2 separate regions of the Homo sapiens genome follow, and region 2 is linked to region 1. Evidence: promoter capture Hi-C in 16 types of primary human blood cells and fetal thymus (Javierre and others, 2016). All regions are on one chromosome and are shown on one strand. Each heading gives the region's core, a stretch centred on a gene start or on the middle of the fragment in contact. The rest is flanking DNA. Distances are from core to core; before and after follow the strand shown. Region 1 holds the start of RAB39A (RAB39A, member RAS oncogene family). Region 2 has its middle 9.1 kb from the start of DDX10.

Region 1 (3,391 bases), core at 253-2,752:
TCACAACCTCTGCCTCCCGGGTTCAAGCAATTCTCCTGCCTCAGCCTCCCGAGTGGCTGAGATTACAGGCATGCACCACTACGCCCGGCTAATTTTGTATTTTTAGTAGAGACGGGGTTTCTCCATGTTGAGGCTGGTCTCGAACTCCTGACTCAGGTGATCCACCCGCCTCAGCCTCCCAAAGTGCTGGGATTACAGGCGTGAGCCACCGCGCCCGGCCTAACACACACTTTTAAACTGTTTCACTTTTTAAAGATAAACCTTGACGTCACTATTACTCAATTTGAGGAAAGGCACAAGAAAGTAGTAAGATCTCACCAGAATTTAAGTTCTGCTTTGTTTACTTACATCATTAATCAGACATGAGCTAAGAGACCACCTGTTCGCTTTTTTCTGACTTAAACAATGGAGACCAAGGAGAGCTGAAAATTTCATGAGCTTCTCAACATTTCCCCGGCTTTTTTTTTTTTTTTTTTTTTTGCCACTGTCCCCAGGGTTGGAGGGCCCCAGAGGGTATGGGGATGATACTTGGCGTTTCTCACTCTTCTGTGGTACTCATAGCAGTGAAGAACAGACAGTGGCAGCACGCAGCAACAGCCAGAGCCCTTGCTAGAAGCACCCAGAACTGGCTGTGCAAATTTATTTCAATCCTGCCCAAAACTCCTTCACCTTAAAATGCCTTGGAGGTGGCTCTCATCAAGACAAGAAAGCAGGGTGTGGTGGCTCACACCTGTAATCCCAGCACTGGGAGGCTGAGCCTGGAGGATCACTTGAGGTCAGGAGTTCGAGACCAGCCTGGGCAACACAGCAAGACCCCATCTCTACAAAAAGTTAGAAAATTAGCGGGATGTGGTGGCCCCCGCCTGTAGTCCCAGCTACTCAGGAGGCTGAGGTGGATGGATCGCTTGAACCTAGGAGTTTGAGACCAGCCTAAGCAACATAGCGAGACCACATCTCTAAAAAAAAAATTTTTTTTTAACCCAGAAGAAAATTAGCCAGGTGTGATGGCTCACACCCGTGGTCCCCGCTGCTTGGGAGGCTGAGGTGGGCAGATCGCTTGAGGCTGCAATGAGCCGAGATCTCACCACATCAATCCAGCCTGGGGGACAAAAAAAAAAGAGGAATCAAAGCAATGACCCAAGTTATGGCCTCAGGGACTTCCAAAATCAGAGCCCTAATCTGACCAACCCGCCCTGACGCCTGTAAGAAAACGACTCTCACTTTTCATTGGCTGACCCTCCCGGAGTTGAGACCTTGCTTCATTTTCCTTGGTTGTTGCTGCTGTCACGTCTTCCCGCCACGCCCACTTTCCTGCCGGCGCCCAGTGAGCGTTGAGGGAGAGTGATTTGCAGCCGGTCAGGGGCGGGAGTTCGCGGCAGCAAACCTGCTTCCCCCTCCCACGCGCCACCGCCCCCGCCCCGCCCCCGTCCAGAGGCCCCGCCCCTAGCCGGGCCTGGCCCCGCCTCTCTCTCCCGAGAGGGCGGGCACCAGGCGGCGGCCGCAGCCGCAGGAATATGCTGGAAGGCGGCGGGCGGGCGCCCGCGAGGTGCTGAAAGGACAGTTCCCGCCGCCGAACTTAGCCCGCGGGTGGGGCGGCCCGGGAGCCAGCGGGGCACGTGAGCGATGGAGACCATCTGGATCTACCAGTTCCGCCTCATCGTGATCGGGGACTCCACCGTGGGCAAGTCCTGCCTCCTGCACCGCTTCACCCAGGGCCGCTTCCCCGGGCTGCGCTCCCCCGCCTGCGACCCCACCGTCGGCGTGGACTTCTTCTCCCGCCTGCTGGAGATCGAGCCGGGCAAGAGGATCAAGCTACAGCTCTGGGACACGGCGGGACAGGAGCGGTTCAGGTAGGGACCCCGGGGACCTTGGGCACCGCGCCGCCCCCTCAGCCCGCCCGGACGCCCCTTCCCCAGGCGTCCGCCCCGCCGGCCCTGGTCGGGAGAGGCTCTGGCCCTTCCCTCTCGAAAGTGCAAACACTCCATTCTCGCTTCCCCTTTGCCCCTCCTCTTCCAGGGACGACTTCCTCCTCCGCAATTTCTCACTTCTTTCTTTGGCGCCCATTTCCTGCGCCCCCTTTCCATCTTTCCTTTCCCGCCTGAACCGGGGTCGTCCTCGCCGCCCCCTCTTCCCCAACTCTTTCAGCCCCTGTGGGTATTTTTATCCCCTCCGGCTCCCCGGCTGCCTTCTTCCCAAACTCGGCTTCCCTGGCTGCGCACAGCATGACCCGACCACCCTCCTCCAAGCAGGCGCCCCTTTTCCTACCCTAACCCAGCGGCTCCCACGCTGTGTGGCCGGGGAGAACCGCGAGGGAGGGTTCCCAGATTCGTGATGGATCCTTTAGCTTCACAGCAAGGAGCGCTCCAACCCAGGTTCCTGCATGAGCTCACTGGGCATGGTTCACAGAGAGGTGGATGCGGTAATGGTTTGGGCACCTCACAGCACTGAATGTGGTCATCAGAAATACTGGGTCATGACCCGTGGGAATGGGTCTTGTAGGTTAACTAGATGCAACATCAGGGACACTGGCACAGCTGAGGGTGTGTGTGTGTGTGTGTGTGTATGTGAAGGGTTGAGTTGTCTTTAGAAGTTTGTCATGTTTGGTGGGAAAAAGACATATATTGAGATTCGCCAGGAACTTTAATTTTGCTTATGATCAGTACTTAACGTTCCAGGGTGATAATATTTCTAAAGACAGAAGGAGGGATCCAAATGAATAGTCTCCTCCTAAATATCCGCTGGGGACATGAAGGGTTTCACAAAGGCGACTTGTGTAAATAAAAAGTAAATGAAATTATATGCATTTCCTGAATATTTGAGATGGAAGCAGGTTTAAAGCAAATTTTAAATGTCTAGGATTCAAAGGCACTTCGTTTTAGAGGAAGATGGTGAAACTGATGTATTGTACTGTTCTGTTTCTTAAAGACTGCATTATCCATTGGAACTCATTTAAGGAAGCATTTTGCGTTAGTCAGCAAGTACTCTGCTTGTGAAATGCAGTGTTCCATGAGGGGACTTCCCAAACATGGCTTCCCCTCGCCCCCAGCCAGCATCACTGCGAATGAGATCAGCCTACATCTGTGAGAATGGTCCAACATTCAAAGTTTTGGCTTCCGTTCCTAGCAATGATGCTGATTCATAGAGATAATGAGTGAACTGCTTAGCTTGCTTATACCTTAGTTTTCGTGTGTGTGAAGTGGAAAGATGGTAAGGCCAGCGCTTCAGAGAGGTGTTAAAAGATTATTGATTGGATTTGTACAACACGTAGAATTCCATGAAAAATGTTTTTCCTTTTCAAGAAGCCTCCTTTTATTAAAATAATTTTTCAAATGTTTGATTCCTCATCTGTAAAATGAAAGTCGTCGTGATCTCTAACATTCCTTCCAGTTTT
Region 2 (3,391 bases), core at 633-3,132, 730 kb after region 1:
TTGGGCAGACCCTAGAATCACAGCAGATTCAGAGAGACTCCAGGGATGCCTCGTGGTCAGAAAAAATTTATAGATTAAAAAAAGGGAAGTGACATACAGAAATCAGAAGTGAGGCACAGAAACAGCTGAATTGGTTATAGGTTGGCGTTTGCCTTATTTGAACACAGTTTGAACACTTAGGAGTCTATGAGTGGTTGAAGTATGGCCACTGGGATTGGCCAAGACTCAGCTATTGTTACAGGTGCATACTCCTAAATTAGATTTTCGATCTTGTCTGCCTATTAAACTAGGTTACAGTTTGTCCATAAGGACTCAAATATAGAAATACAGAGTCCTTCTCAGGCCATATTTAGTTTGCTTTAACACTATGTAAAACATAGAAATATATGGAAATTGTACATAGGTAGTGAACAATTAGATTCAAGGTTAACTTGAATAACTGAACTCAGTAAGGTTGGCCCCAGTACATGACAAACTGCTATTTATGAAGATACTAATTCTTTTTAGAACAGGAGAGTTGGAAGTCTTTCCATGATGAAATAAATCAAAATTATGTTTTGTGGTGCCACAAACTGGGAGAGAATACCAATGATATCAAGTATTAAGTCACATATGACCCTGGGCGTATCATTTAATCTTTCTTGCCTTCAGTTTTCTCATCCGGAAAATGAGTTGTGTGAGGTTTAGAAAGAATGTATGTAATGAAGTTAGAAATAGCACTTACTAGGTGCTCAATAAATATTAGCAATTACTTCCTGTTAATTAAAAAGAAGCGTTGGAAGAATGAATTAAAAATAGAATTTTGGGAGTACTGATTGTAAATAAAGCATGTCCTAGAAACTCAATGTTTTAATAAGACAGACAAACTTACCAGTACACCAAATTGCTGAGTGACTATAAAAACCCAGGCCAAATTCAGTCCACTCCCAAGGGAAAACTAGCACTTAATCCTACCCTGCCACCTGCTGGCCCATGATAGACCAAAAATAACTATCTGGAAGTTCCAATTTCTCACTAAGTGAAAATAGTGGCAGAAATTAAGTTTATCTCAGACAAGTGATTAGGGCATGAGTCTTCAAGTATTTTTACTAGTGAACCACAGTATGAGAATCCTTATGTGTGATAGCCACAGTAATTTTTATTGATAACATTGATGAGTTGAGATGGTTTTGTTAAGCGTCTTATTAATATCTATGGTTCAAATATGAATCAAGGGCAGGCAGGGTGCAGTGGCTCACACCTGTAATCCCAGAACTTTGGGAGGCTGAGGCAGGCAGATCGCCTGAGTCCAGGAGTTCGAGATCAGCCTGGGCAACATGGCAAAACTCTGTCTCAACTAAAAATATAAAAAAGTAGCCAGGCGTGGTGGCATGTGCCTGTGGTCCCAGCTACTCAGGGGACTGAGGCAGGAGGATGGCTTGAGCCCAGGAGTTCAAGGCTGCAGTGAGCCCTGATTGTTTCACTGCACTCCAGCCTGGGCGAGGCCCTATCTCAAACAACAACAACAACAACAAAAAAATCAACAGCATATGGAAACTTTATTTATTACTATTTTCCCTTTGTATGTTAATTTTCATAGTTTTATTATGGTTTAATTTTGGTGGTATTCAACTTGAACTGATTATAATCAGCTTCAATTATTATGATTAATTGTAATTTACTAGACCAGAGGTCCCTATGAAACAGAATTGCCTGGTTTCTGTTTCATACTTATAGAATAGGAATATTTTTGGCTAAAGCTCAGGAAGCACTATTTTTTAAAAGCTTTCTATGTGATTCTCGTGCAACTAACTTTGGAGGCCATCATGCTTGATTATAAATTTCTTGAGGCAAGGACAGTTTTTTTCTTCATTTTTGTATTCTTGAGGCTTAAGAATGTCTAGTACAAGACAATTAGATAAATAAAGGAAAAAAGTTATACATAAATGAATGAACAAACACATGCATAGACAAACTAATTGATTCATGACTCCTGGGTAGTTAGCAACACAACAGTTGTGGCAAGCTTAAACCTCGTGGCCTTTTAATTTATGTGTACTAGCCAATTAGGTAAATATATTTTTGTTGTTTAAAGGTTTGACAGGATGCATTCTGGAATCAAGGTGGCTGCATGCTGGCCCCGCCAAGTTTTAGAGGATATGAGTAAAAGGAGATGGAACCAACCAAAGCTGCAACTTCAAAAATTGTATAGAGGTGTTGTATCCTAACAATGACTTCAGACTGATTATATTAATAAGGTATAAGGAAACAAAGGTAATTTCACTATTTGAATAAACATATATCTTGTTGTATTAATTTCTTTTCCAACTTAAAAAAAGTCAAATATACAGTTGAATTGATTTACAAATAGTTATTTGCCATTTTTACGTAACAAGAGGACATGGATGGGTTCACCTTTTAGCATCTTTAGGCCAAGTTATTCTGATCTTGTGGACTCTCTTAAAATTAAACAGTATTTAACTTTATTGGCAATGTAGAAAGGCAGTTACAATGCAGAGAGCAGACAAACTTAAACAAAGAACTGGCTGGGTGCGGTGGCTCACACCTGTAATCCCAACACTTTGGGAGGCTGAGGTGGGCAGATCATGTGAGGTCAGTAGATCCAGGCCAGCTTGGCCAACATGGTGAAATCTGTCTCTACTAAAAATAGAAAAATTAGCTGGGCCTGGTGGTGGGTGCCTGTAGTCCCAGCTACTTGGGAGGCTGAGACGGGAGAATTGCTTGAACCTGGGAAGCGGAGGTTGCAGTGAGCTGAGATCGCACCACTTCACTCCAGCCTGGGCGACAGAGCAAGACTCAATCTCAAAAACAAAAAAACAAAAGCAAAAAACTATTACTGAAGAGGTCCACTGTGTGCCTGGGAGAATTGACCCATAAACAATTAACTCTAAAACATAATTTAGTAAAATGATTTGATTTACTAAAAAAGGGAGAAAAAATAATCTGATTTTTCATTCAAAACAATTAAGGTCATTATGAAAGAAAGAAAATTAGATTGGCATCAGACAGCTTGGCAACAACACACTAAACAAGACAACAGTGGAACAACCCTTTAAAAGAAACTCAAGGGAAAAAAGTGAAAACTAAAAACTTTACAACTTGAGGCTATTGAAAAACAATTTAAAGCATGCAGGACCTCAGCGAATATTGCACCTGTAAGTTCCTTGGAACCAAGAGGTGATGTGGAAAACTTTGGCAGTTGAAGAATGAGCATTAAATGTAATTTTAGATCTAAGTCTAAACAAAGTGGAGTAAGCATGGAAGAATAAAGCATAAATGCAATATGCTCTGACAATGCAAATGAAAGAGAAAATAAACTCATGGATTTCCATAGTGATAATAAATGGAAATCAAGGGGTATCACTGACTCAAGGAAAAAGGAGTATAAGAG

The links. Contacts are between HindIII fragments. The CHiCAGO score rates a contact against its expected background, and 5 or more counts as called.
Region 2: a contact is called between a fragment that was not itself captured here and the fragment with the promoter of RAB39A in region 1, in 1 of 17 cell types (total B cells). The highest score is 5.7, in total B cells.

The regions. Positions count from the first base shown.
Region 1 is chr11:107,926,946-107,930,336 of GRCh38, forward strand. RAB39A (RAB39A, member RAS oncogene family) reads left to right here and starts at 1,503. Exons shown (of 2, transcript NM_017516.3): 1 at 1,503-1,850. The coding sequence starts at 1,624. RefSeq lists silencers at 1,239-1,728, 1,759-1,978. The HindIII fragment of the contact is 18,255 bases long and covers 1-3,391 here.
Region 2 is chr11:108,654,238-108,657,628 of GRCh38, forward strand. No RefSeq gene overlaps it. Among named protein-coding and RNA genes, the nearest start is that of DDX10, 9.1 kb to the right of the region's middle. The HindIII fragment of the contact is 241 bases long and covers 1,763-2,003 here.